2 separate regions of the Homo sapiens genome follow, and region 1 is linked to region 2. Evidence: promoter capture Hi-C in 16 types of primary human blood cells and fetal thymus (Javierre and others, 2016). All regions are on one chromosome and are shown on one strand. The core of a region is centred on a gene start or on the middle of the fragment in contact, and the rest is flanking DNA. Distances in the headings are between cores, read along the strand shown.

What was found. Contacts are between HindIII fragments. The CHiCAGO score rates a contact against its expected background, and 5 or more counts as called.
Region 1: a contact is called between the fragment with the promoter of OR51E2 here and the fragment with the promoter of OR52N4 in region 2, in 1 of 17 cell types (M0 macrophages). The highest score is 5.6, in M0 macrophages.

The regions. Positions count from the first base shown.
Region 1 is chr11:4,693,635-4,700,119 of GRCh38, forward strand. OR51E2 (olfactory receptor family 51 subfamily E member 2) reads right to left here and starts at 4,219. Exons shown (of 2, transcript NM_030774.4): 1 at 4,019-4,219. It overlaps OR51C1 (olfactory receptor family 51 subfamily C member 1), which reads right to left and starts at 4,219. Exons shown (of 2, transcript NM_001396051.1): 1 at 4,019-4,219. The coding sequence starts at 4,027. The HindIII fragment of the contact is 1,338 bases long and covers 2,996-4,333 here.
Region 2 is chr11:5,748,804-5,755,534 of GRCh38, forward strand. It overlaps OR52N4 (olfactory receptor family 52 subfamily N member 4), which reads left to right and starts at 5,440. Exons shown (of 2, transcript NM_001005175.5): 1 at 5,440-5,502; 2 at 5,890-6,731. The coding sequence starts at 5,938. The HindIII fragment of the contact is 4,248 bases long and covers 5,367-6,731 here.

The sequences.
Region 1 (6,485 bases), core at 2,969-5,468, 1.1 Mb before region 2:
GGAGTGAACCTGGAAGGCGGAGCTTCCAGGTGAACCGAGATGGCGCCATTGCACTCCAACCTGGGCGACAGAGCGAGACTCCGTTTCAAAAAACAAACAAACAAACAAAAAACTGTTGAGCAACAGTGCACTTGTAACACTTCTCTTGATCTTGCTTTACTATCTCAGGGACATTAACTGAGTATCTGGATCTTACATAGTGCTATTTTAGAAGCTAAAGGACAACACAAATAAAACCCCACTTAGAGAGTTTATAATCCAGTGAGGCAGAAAGAGCAGAACCGTTTTTCAATAATTTCAATATCTCATATACAGCGATGAATAATAAAAATGGTTATGAAAGTACAGAGGGGCTCCATTTATGTCAATTAATTCTGGCTTTCATGATTTTTAGTTCCTACGCAATATCTGAGTTGTAATTTTTGTCATTGTGTTGTAGGACATTTTATGTAACCACTTAAAAAAATTAAATTGCTATTTGAATAATTTCTCTTTCATCCTAACTTCTTCATATCTCCCATTACCTCATTTCAACAATTTATTCATTGCCTATTTTCATTCTTCTTGGTAGTTTTTTTCCTCCTTCTTGCCAAGAGATCATAAACAAAACAAAAGAAAACCATAGTGTATATATTTTGACCTGATCTGTGTTGGGCCTAGCAAAAAAAAAATGACTTCTCTCCTTTCCATCACTTTACAAGCATATCTTCCTGCATCCTTCCTACGTTCACGCTGGGCTCAGAGACAGAGGGTACCTTATTCTTTTTCCTAGCCAATAACTCCACTTTAGCTCCTATCAACCAGAAACACTTAGTTCAGTTCAAACTGAACTAAACTATACATATATATACGTGTATATATATATATACACACACATATATATATATACACACACACATATATACGTATATATATATACACACACACATACATATATATATACACACACACACACACACACACACATATGCAGGGAGCTGAGCTTGCTGTGTCAAGAGTCTAGGGACTCTTACTGAAAATAAAAAATGACTAATTTTAAATATCTACTACATGCCAGACAGCGTCTATCAGCAGTAACAGAAACAAACAGATAAATGCTACTAGTTGTAGAGTGTATAAGGATAGGATGTATCTAATTGATAAGGCAGAAGAGATAATAGTGTGGAGTGGCAGATTTGGAGTGTGTGCATACATGAATGTGTCTGTGTGTGTCAAGAAGAACTAGTTCCAAGAATGTTAACAGAATGTATGCTTTATAACTGTGTGAAGTTTTGATGGGTAAATGTGAGTTTATAAGGATGAAAAACAGGGGAAGTGTGCTTTTGCAGTGCCGTTGATAAAATGAGGAGAGACATGAATGAAAGAATAACATAAGCCAGTTTGTTGGATAACTACAAGAGAAGGGGTATATCGAAGTCTTAAATGTGAGGCTAGGTGCTGTGGGAAATGAAGCTAGAGAAAGCACCAGAGGTCAAATCATGAAAATCTTGAATTCCATGGACAGTGTAATGAACTTAAATTTTTGCAGAGCATCAAGAGCCAGACATTTCTAACATTTTATTCACCTTTTATTGACCACTGGAAGCAAGGAGCTTTGCTTTTAATAAATAAATCATTTTCCATCTCTTCTCATTTAATGCCAACAAAATTCCTTTCCCTCTTTAGTATCTTGTTTAGTGCCATTGGTTGCTTTTTTGAAGTCTGCAATACTCAAGTTTTACTCTAACTCAACAATAAAAGCTTCCCACAGTTTTGTATAGATATTTCCAAACAATTCATTTCAACCAGGATATATTGAATAGTTTTCATAATTAGCCTTGTGCTTTGATAGTGAGGGATACAAGACATAAGCCCTGTTTCTCTCTCAATTTCCTGCTGTATCTTTTATAAGGATAAAAATTCCTTTGGAGAACAGTCTGCTTTTGTTTATTATTCCTTCACCTTCAGTAACAATCTGAATTCTTTCCCTAATGACTCTGAAAATCCTCCAAATGATGTCACCCGTGATTTTCTACATGCCAAGTCCAAAAGTTTAATCTCAGATTTGTTTTTCTCTCCCTCATCTCAACTTTCAGCAATGTTTACCTCCTCCTCCTTGAAACTTTCTCCTTCATTAGCTTCAGTGATGGTTATTCTGTGAGGTTTTTTTTTTTCCTGTTTGTTAAACAATGGTTTTGTTCTCTGCCTTATAAATTGTGGGATTCTAGAGGAGTCTGCTTTTCTCCCAAGAAGTACCTCTTCTTTTCTTGCTTTTCATATGCTCTCCTTGAGATATCTTGGTTATTCTCATGGCTTTAAATAGCACTTATATCCAGAAGACTCATAAATCTGCAATCTAATTATGGCATCTCCAGAGTTCTGTATTTTAAAAGTTAGCAGAATCTTTAACGCTGTGGCAAAGTTTCTGGTTTTAAGCGTAAAGGTAGTAATGAGACATGAAAATACAGTGAAGCAATCAAACCTGTAATTTAGAAAAATAATTGACAGCATTTTGGAGAACAAAGCTCCTTGCTGCATGTGGTGAATAAAAAGTAAATAAAATACTGTGGCTACCCCTGAGGGACATCTCTACCCATCATCACTCAGTTACTTCAACTTCTATATGAGACAAATGGAACTCATTCTCTCGTCCCCTCCAAACCTGGCTCTTCCTCCTGCTTCATTTATCAGCAAACGACATCGAACTCTAGTAAATCATTGAATTAAAATTACTACCCACCACACACACACACATGTGTGCACACACATACCCTCCTCTTTCTCTCTCTCATCCCTTACATATAAAGATTAGTTTTTAACTGATTCTACTCCTGAAATGTAAAAGATGAGAACCTCGGGAGGTCTATATAAGAAGGCCAAGCAATTGTTAGTAGTGGGTATTTGCAGCTATTATTTCATTGCATTTTTCTTACATTGAAAAAATCTTAAGTGTTTATATTCAAGACAAGAGGGGGACTAATGAATATCCTTAGAAGGAGGCACTAAATTTCCCCCAAGCTTCTCTTTTGTGCTGCCTTCACTCTAGAATCTTTCCGACCCATCCTCTCCAATCCATATATACTTTCATTTTCTCTCTTGTGAAATAAGCTATATTCTCTCAACTAATTTTTCTGCCCACTCGGATTACAATGATGCTCCTCTTTCATTGCACTATTATAAGCTATAGCTTGTGGCTGTCTTAATCTGCTGAACTAGACCTTATAGTGTCATCAGTATTCTCCATGCTATTGTCAATGGTATGGCTATCATGTGTGACTGACCTGGGTTCAGATTCTTGCTCAAACACTAACTAGTTTTGAGACCATCTACACCATTAATAAAAATATTACTCATAGAAATAGCTACCATTTACTGGACACGTGTTCTGTGAACATTATTGTCCTCAGTGCTTTATAAGCATTATTTTAATTCTTACTATGTCATCATGTGACAAGTATTATTAGATTCACTTTAAATTCATTTTTCTGGTAAAGACACTGAGTATCAGAAGTCTGAAACATATTTGAAATCACATACAACTGGTGAAAGTCAGAGCTGAATTTTTAACTCAGGTCTTTTTAATTCCAAAGCTCGTGCTCTCAAAAACAATTGTTTTACTGAAATCTACAAGTAATATAAACTTTCTGTGACCCAGTTTCCTCATCTATAAGACAGGATATGCGCTGTGTCTAATACCAGTAGCTGGCAGGCAATGCGTTCGAAATTGGTAACTTTTCATTTTTAGTAATAGTTATTGGGCATAGAAATGAGATTCACTGACTGTGATAAATATATCAGCACACTGATTAAACCATTTGACTAAAAACAAGTTATCTAACCTATATCAGGCAGAACGAAATACCCATTCTCTACGTATTTCCTGGGAATAAATAATTCTGAAATTCTACCGTCCTCCTCAGCCCACCATACCAACATCTAATCTAATTCTGCACATTGTGAGGAAATTACTCCCTGTGGGTGAGAAAGTCCAATTCATCTAGAGTCAAGCATTTTCATTGAACAAAACAGTTTTACTTACAGAGCCCATACAGCAGTTCGGCCTGTTCCTTTCAGGCTGACTCAGAAGGCTGAGGAGGCTTTAGATTCCAGGGGAGGGCCGAGCTTGCAAATATGAGGAGACTTATTCCAGCCTGACTGGAGACAGGCACAGAGCTGAAAGGCCAATTCCTGGTGGTGGTGCTAACTCACTGTGTCTTCAGGGTGTGGAGATTCCCAGAAGACTTCTTTTGCCTCATACAGTCCTTTTATATCTGTTCCATTATGCAATTACTTACGGTGGCTATGTGCTTTATGGGCTGATGTAACCTTTTTTTCATGTGTCATTTCACTCAAAAGCTTTTTTATTTAACAGCTTTATTGTTATATCATTCACATACTATAAAATTCACCCATTTATAGTGTATGATTCAATTTTTTTTAGTAAAGTCACAGAACTGTGCAAGAACCATCATCACAATTCAATTTTAGAACATTTTTTATTACCCTTAAAAGGAACCTCATAATCACTAGCAGTCACTCTGAAGGAGATTTTAAAAAACGAAATATTGTAGCAAATTGCTAAATGACATCTCCCATTATGAGTGAGAGTCCAACTCCACCCCTTAACTCCTCAGTATCTATGATTATTCACAGCAGTATGGTTTCATTAGCCCACCTGTGGTTCTTTGCAGCAGCAGTCTTTCTCTTACAGATAAAAAATAATTCATTTACTCATCCATACATATATCCAGTAAATATTTCATAAGAATGTCCCATATTCTAAACATTATACTCAGTGATAGAGTTTTTTTTTTTAAGAATACACCATAATTCTTACTGTTTAGGATTTTAGTGTAGAAGATAGACAGGTTAACCAATAATTACATGTTAACCAATGATAAGGTTATCCTAGAGGCATGAACCAAATGCTTGGTGAATACAGTAGGTAAAAATCTTGGTTCACAACTTACTTGTGTATAAAATACGGTTTCATTTACTTTTTTATAATTTGACCTATTTCGTATTTTGAAGTCCCAACCTACCAGGTTGAAGAGAATTAGTCACAATAATTTGGGGTTCTCTCTACTTATAGTCAAATTTTGAAAATCTTGTATTATACCAAGAAAAATTGCAGGTAGGTGGGTGATTGACTTGGCCAATGATGTCACCTTCTGTCAGTTTACTATCACTCTCATTAGTCTTTAATAAATAGAATGCATAGATTGCTATAAGTTGTCCATCTTTTCTCCTTATGGCCTCTTTAGATCCTTAGATATTCCCACCAATTTGGACCACACTTGGGCATATGGGTCTTTGATTCATTCTCAGTTTCTGTCTCTTACACCCTGCATTTAATCCATTGGTAAATTATGTCAATCTCTTTGAAAAATACAATCAGAAATTGATCACTGTTTATCATCTCCAGAAATGTCACCTTTATTTAAGTCACAATTATCTCTCACTTGGGTAACTTCAGTAGTTTCCTAACCATTCTCCCTGCTTCCGATATTATCTCCTCTCCACTATCAAATCTGTTTCACTACTGAAAATGTCATGGCCTGAGATATTTTCTTCTTCATAATGTAATAAAAACAATAAATAACAAGAACAATAATATTTTATTATGCATTCTACATCCATGATACTAGGCCAAGTGTTTGTGGTAGACAGGATAATGGCCCCTAAAGATACCTATGTCTTAATGCCTGGAACCTGTGAATATGTCACCTTACATTGCAAAGGGACTTTGCAGATGTGATTAAAGTTAAATAACTTGAGATGGCAAGATTAGATGGATTAGCTGGGTGGATCCAATATAGTCACACGGGTCTTTAAAAGTAGAGAACCAGAGAGATGGCAGCATGAGAAGGATTTGATCCACTGTTGCTGGCTTTGAAGATGGCAGAAGGAGGCTACAAGCCAAGGAATGTGGAAAGCCTCCAGAAGGAGAAAAGAAGATAATTGATTTTTCCCTAGCCCCTCCATAAAGAAATGCAGCCTGGTGATTCCTTGATTTTAGCTCAGTGAGATCCATGTCAACTTTTGACTTACACAACTCTACAATAATAAATTCAGTAGAAGAATCCATTATTAGTTTGATTTATGTCTTAAACCATGTTTAAACCAAAAATTAGAGTGTAAGTAACTTACCTAAGTTTCTCAGTTATAAATGGCACAAGTAGTATTCAAAGCCTCGGCTATCTGACACCCTCTCAGTTTTCAAAACTCATTTTCTAAACAGTCTTCACATGACTATCCATTCACCACTACTTTCAATTTGAGTCATCTACACCCAAAAGCCTGCATGCATGCTGATGTGCCAAACTGAATGTTAACAGGTTGTCACTTGTGCATGCTTATTCCTTGCACATAAAGGTATTTTATTGTTGTGTTTCCGCACAGGAAACTTCTTGAGACCTTTGAAAACACTTTCTCTACCAAGTTGGGCAAATTGTAGGGCTGTGACTCTTTTCCCATTAGTCTCAGAAACTATTTGGGAATAGTCA
Region 2 (6,731 bases), core at 4,190-6,689:
GTATTAAATCCTAGTCTTTACTAAAATAACTTGTGTTCATTTTCATTCTCTCCCTGACTCATATATACACTCTAATACACAAACACACACATATGGGATTATTTGCTTATATACGTATCATTATTTGGACACTGAGAATGGAAAGTTCTTGTTCTTTCTCCTCTTCCCATAGAGGTTATCTTGATTCTCACACCAACATCTGTGTCTCTGAGATTCTTAAATATCCCCTTGGGACACATAACATGTATTTTTTTTAAGGCTCAGTTCAATAGTTCAGACATAAAGGAATTTATAGGCTGATAGCTGTGGATACATATATTAATTCTAGGATTGTGAATTTTTTTTGACCAAGATTGTTAACACCTGGAGTAGATTGCGTTTACAGATCACTGTTCTGCTATCCAGAAACGAAGGTACTAAAAATATGCAAAAGAGGGGATAGTGACAAAATTTATTTTCTGTAGTCAGCAAGATAAAGTGAAGAGGAGCTTTGGGTATATCTCAGTTGTTTATCATTTATCCAGCTAAGTCATTGATTCCAATCACATAGTTGGAAGGAAGAAGCATTGTGTGAGGTTGAGTTCTTTTGGAAAACATTTATTTTCCCAAATCAAGCATTAAAATTCAGTGTGAATTATAATGATTATGATTATCTGTGTATTTCTCTGTTTAAATGGGAATCCTTTTTTACTAGTGGTGGAAGTCAAGTGTGGATTACCCCCACAATAAGGAGAAATGAAAGACTAGCTAGAGAATATTTACCCATTACTCTTGCTTCTTACTTGCTCTCCTTTACTTCCCCCAAACCATAGTCTAATTTTCCTTGGTTATTTCCTGGAAAGACTGAGATAGGACTTTTGTTTCATGTGTTTGCAGTAGCAAAATCTAATCCACACGGAGCAAGCAACCCTCATATGAGAAGTTGGGTCTACTAGATTGGAGATGGTTGAACGAAAACAAAACAAAACAAAACAAATTTATTGGCCTACAGAGTTTAAGAATGAGGTTAGATAGAAGATAACATGTATCAATATTACTTTTCCAATGACTCTTTCCACACCCCAGCATAGCAAAGTCAAATTTCTTTGCAGAAGAAATTAAACTTTGATGTGTACAAACTATTTTAAATGTTTTAGGAAGAAAATTGCATACGTTTGTACTTATTAATAATACTTAGATAGTTATGTAGTTCTTGGAGAGCTTTGTAAATGTGTTGAAGATGGGACCTAAATTGTTGTGTAAGCATAAAACCAGTTTTAGTGACTAAAGGTATGCCGAAAACAAGAAAATATAGGAAATACTAATAAAATATTTATCTAGTATTTAGATACAAGTGTGCATGTAATCTCAGAAGCAAATTATTCTATTTTCGGTTTAGGAGATATTTATGCTTCCCCTAATTTCTCTACCTACTTCTAACACATGGATACTTATTTCACATGCAGTGGAACCATGAACACATACTTGGATATGTGCAGGTTCAATACAGATCTACAAGTATATTTTTCTCCACCCAGGTAATTGTTCTTTCCACACATAATTCATTAAGACATTAAAAATAGCATTTTCCATTACTTGAAATGGTCACTTTAACTCCAAGAAAAGCTGCAAAAGTGCATCCTGAGCTGCTATTTACAAAGCAATGTATAGCCCAAAACAAGCACTGAGCATCACATTTAATAAGACACTGTTCAATATATTAAAGTGAGATGGAGAAAAGAATCGTGACACTATTGAATAGTTTATACTAAATTTTTATAAATTATTGAAAAAGTAGTTTTATAAATGGATTATTGCCACTGTCACTGTCAGTTATTTTGCTTAATAATATATTGTAAAACATCTGAAAAATGAGGTATATGTAAAAAATCTGAAAAATATAATAGTGACTACAAATATAAAATATAAATTCATAGTTTATAAATTCTGTCTGAAAGGCAGAATCCTGTAATTTTGATGTTCATAGAAAAACATTTCATGTATTGAAGACTATCTTTTATGCTTTTACAAAATAATAATTAACATACTTCTGAAAATTCCAAAGCTAAAATTTCAATTTTTGAACCATTCACTTACCTTAATTAAAAATTTAAAAATGAGTTTATAAGCTGCTATGTAATGTAAGTGTAACTTTGGGAGGTCCTCATATTAACATTGTCCCTCCATATCAACAAAGTGAGAATGTGAATTTAAGTGCTTTTCGTTATTTGTGTTATAGAAAAACCTTATCAAACTTGGAAAAAAAACAATTTGGTACAATTACCTTTAATTACACAATGCTAAGCGTTTTGTCTTCTCAAAGTGATCTTGACTTGAGTGTTTTAGCTTTGAATTCTTTTTTCTAGTATTAGTATATCCTAAGTATGAGGTATACTGTTTATCTAAAAATATTATGTTTGTATATATTTTTAAACCTTTGTGTATAATTTTCATTCTGATGAAATCTTATACTGCATATATAATTTTTAAAAATTAGTTGGAATTATTTCAACTTGATGGGAAGTTTAAATTATTTTTATATCCAAAACCAATGTTTGTTCTGCCTTTGTCATCTTTTTTTTTCCACTTTGTATTCTCTGTTTCTCTACTTTATGAGAGAGATGCCTTATGTTGTTTAGCTTTTCTAGTAATCTTAAGTAAAACTTTCTCTTTTTTTTCCTTCTAGTGGTTTCTTTTATACATTCCAAGTAATATTAGGTTGGTGCAAAAGGAATTGTGGCTTTGCCATTACTTTTAATGGTAAAAACCGCAATTATGTTTGCACCAATCTAATAATACTTAGATTATAATTTAATAATTATCAAAATAAAGTGTTTCGGGTGAGTCATTCACTTTTTCATTTACTTATTTGTTTATTTATTTTAAAATTGACATTTATTGAGTATCTAATATGAGAGATTTGATTTGCTCGGCTCTGAGGATGCTTTACCAGACACTGTCCTTACATCGGTGATTTCACTGAATTTTGGAGAATTCCTAAATATAAGTTGATTTTCATAATATCATGAGGGAAATATTATTAAAGAGAATAATTGTTTGAACAAATCAATTTCTTACCCCTAGTCAAGGCTATTGGTAGCTACATTATCTTAAAATAATTTAAAGGATGGGTCGCTATCATGTCCAAAGGACATTTGAGACCTCCTGATGATGGTTCTGCTTGAAGAATGTATAGGGATTAGCTACATTTGAGGGGAGTGGGCAAAGGGAGCACCAAGGAGATAGAGGTTTGCCTATCACAAAGCTGAGAATGTCAGTGCGATATGAGTAGGAAACAGCAAACAGCAACAGAAGAAAATGCTGTTCCTACCACTTTGACCTGTCAGAATTCTAATCATGCTCCAGGTCTGGAAGCATCTGTCCTCTTCTCTAGGAGCATCTCCTGAGGCTAGGTTAGACACACAGGTGCTCCTATGACACCCAGTATAACTCTGACATTTTGTAATGACTTGAGTACATATCTTTGAGGAGCATGCCTATTAACAAGTTTAACCTGTGTTTTTCTACTATTTTCAAAACAAGTTGCCTTTTGATAAATCTGATCTGTCCTCTTCATCTTACCCAATAAGGCAGAACATGTGACTGTACTTCCTATCAGATGCTAATCTTAAAACAGTGTATTTTATTAATGGAGGTTAGGATGAATACCTCCTCTGATGGGGCACAAAAGAGAGTTCATTTGGTGGCACTCATGATTCCTATGGTGTTAATTTTTGTAAGCATTGCCAAAATGGCTGCCAGCCTGAGTAGAAAATACAAATATGGGTATTGAGCACTTAAAATGTGGTAGCATGTTTTAACATATTACGTCCTTTAATCCTCTTGGCAATTTAATTTTTGTTATTATAAATTCTAACATACATATGCAATTTTACAATTAATCCAATTACATGTTGATTGATTTTTACAACCTGAATCTTGTATATCTCACAACCAAATCAAGTAAGGGAATATGACCAGCAACTAACAGGACCCTTCTACCACATACTGCCTTTCAGTTATCACTCTCTCTCACTTTTTAAAAAGATTTTTCTATTTCTAATAGCACAGAATAATTTGATCCGTTTTTGTATTTCATTTAAAGATCACAAGATGTTACATCTATTTTAAGTCTTTCTAAAAAAAATTAACACATATTGTGAGATTCGTCTATATTATGCATATAGTCATAGATTGTTTATTCTTATTGTTACGTGGTATTTCATTGTGGGAATGTACCAAAATTTATTTACCCATTTGATGTTGATGAACATTTAGGTTTTTTCCAGTTTTAGGCTATACTACAAATCATGTTTCAATAAGCATTCTAATTGATGTATTCTAGTAAATATATATACATAGTTTTGTTGGAAATGGCAATGGTGGTCATGTGTATGTTTATCATTATGAGATATCTAATAAAGAGTTGTTCTAATTTACATGTCTACCAGCAGTAAATGAGAGTTCCAGTTGTTCTACATCTTTGCCAATGCTTGGTATTTTTAGTTCTTTTCATTTTAGCTGTCCTGTTTGGTATGTCACTACATACCAAAAAAAGGTGCTTTGTCATGAGAGATACAATTTTTACTTATTTTTCTGATTAATATAAAAGTTTGTGCCTATTTACCTGTTCATTGGCAATTTTATTTCTCTTTTGAAGTGTATGTTTCTTCCTGCAACTTTTTCTTACTGATGTTGTTGAAGTACTTTATATATTTTCTGTATGTATGCATTTGGATATCTTCTAGTTTGCGTTGACTAGATACATAAAGAACAAGAAAGATATCTTGAAAAGTGAAAAAATTGAATCAAAACTTCATTGACTTTTTTAATTTTAAATTTTTGTGGGCACATAGTAGGTGTATATATTTATGGGTGTATGAGATATTTTGATAGAAGCATACAATGTGTAATAATCCCTTTTAAAGGGCCGGGCACAGTGGCTCATGCCTGTAATCCCAGCACTTTGGGAGCCTGATGTGGGTGGATTACCTGAGGTCAGGAGTTGGAGACCAACCTGACCAATATAGTGAAACCCCATCTCTGCTAAAAATACAAAAATTAGCTGGGCGTGGTGGCATGTGCCTGTAGTCGCAGCTACTCGGGAGGCTAAGACAGGAGAATTGCTTGAATCCGGGAGGTGGAGGTTGCAGCCAAGATTGCGCCACTGCACTCCAGCCTGGGCAACAAAGCAAGACTCTGCCTCAAAAAAAAAAAAAAAAAAAAAAAAAAATCCCAGTAAAGTAAATAGGGGTATCCATCATCTCAAACATTTATCCTTTGTGTTACAGACAACCCAATTATATTATTTTAGTTATTTTAAAATATACAATTAAATTATTATTGAGTATAGACACCCAATAAATTTACTAATTTTTGAGACCCCAAGCTTCATTGAGTAATAATTTAATTAAAATTTCAAAATTCTTTGAACAGTGCCTGAGTACCCAAGAATAAATATCAGTCAGTCATTAAGAATAAAAATTAAAAAGTCAACATCTCATCTCTCAGATCATCAGTGAGGTAATCAAATGACTCTTCTTTAAAATTATATCTATATTGAGATGAGTATAGTTATAGTTAAGTAAGATATTCTAATAAAAATACCATTTGAAAAGTCAGAATTATACTTGATTATAAATCTATGAGATTGGGAATATGTCTTTTTATAAAATAATTGATGTTTGATTGGCATCTGTGTTGAAAACTTAGACTGCTCAATAAGAATTTTTTACTGAATCAATTAATTAATCAATCAATAAAACTAAACAGACAAACAAAATTATTTCTTGGCACTCAGAAATTTGGTTGTTGGACCATTAAAATGCATTATGGAATTTTTAAAAGTTGGGGGAGAGGGAGACAGTAAAAATAACCTATATTTTCTCTTGTTTTTTTTTTTAACTCTAGGAAAGCCCAGACAAATTTTGAGCTATTTCATAACCTACCAGACTTATCATGCTAACACTGAATAAAACAGACCTAATACCAGCTTCATTTATTCTGAATGGAGTCCCAGGACTGGAAGACACACAACTCTGGATTTCCTTCCCATTCTGCTCTATGTATGTTGTGGCTATGGTAGGGAATTGTGGACTCCTCTACCTCATTCACTATGAGGATGCCCTGCACAAACCCATGTACTACTTCTTGGCCATGCTTTCCTTTACTGACCTTGTTATGTGCTCTAGTACAATCCCTAAAGCCCTCTGCATCTTCTGGTTTCATCTCAAGGACATTGGATTTGATGAATGCCTTGTCCAGATGTTCTTCACCCACACCTTCACAGGGATGGAGTCTGGGGTGCTTATGCTTATGGCCCTGGATCGCTATGTGGCCATCTGCTACCCCTTACGCTATTCAACTATCCTCACCAATCCTGTAATTGCAAAGGTTGGGACTGCCACCTTCCTGAGAGGGGTATTACTCATTATTCCCTTTACTTTCCTCACCAAGCTCCTGCCCTACTGCAGAGGCAATATACTTCCCCATACCTACTGTGACCACATGTCTGTAGCCAAATTGTCCTGTGGTAATGTCAAGGTCAATGCCATCTATGGTCTGATGGTTGCCCTCCTGATTTGGGGCTTTGACATACTGTGTATCACCAACTCCTATACCATGATTCTCCGGGCAGTGGTCAGCCTCTCCTCAGCAGATGCTCGGCAGAAGGCCTTTAATACCTGCACTGCCCACATTTGTGCCATTGTTTTCTCCTATACTCCAGCTTTCTTCTCCTTCTTTTCCCACCG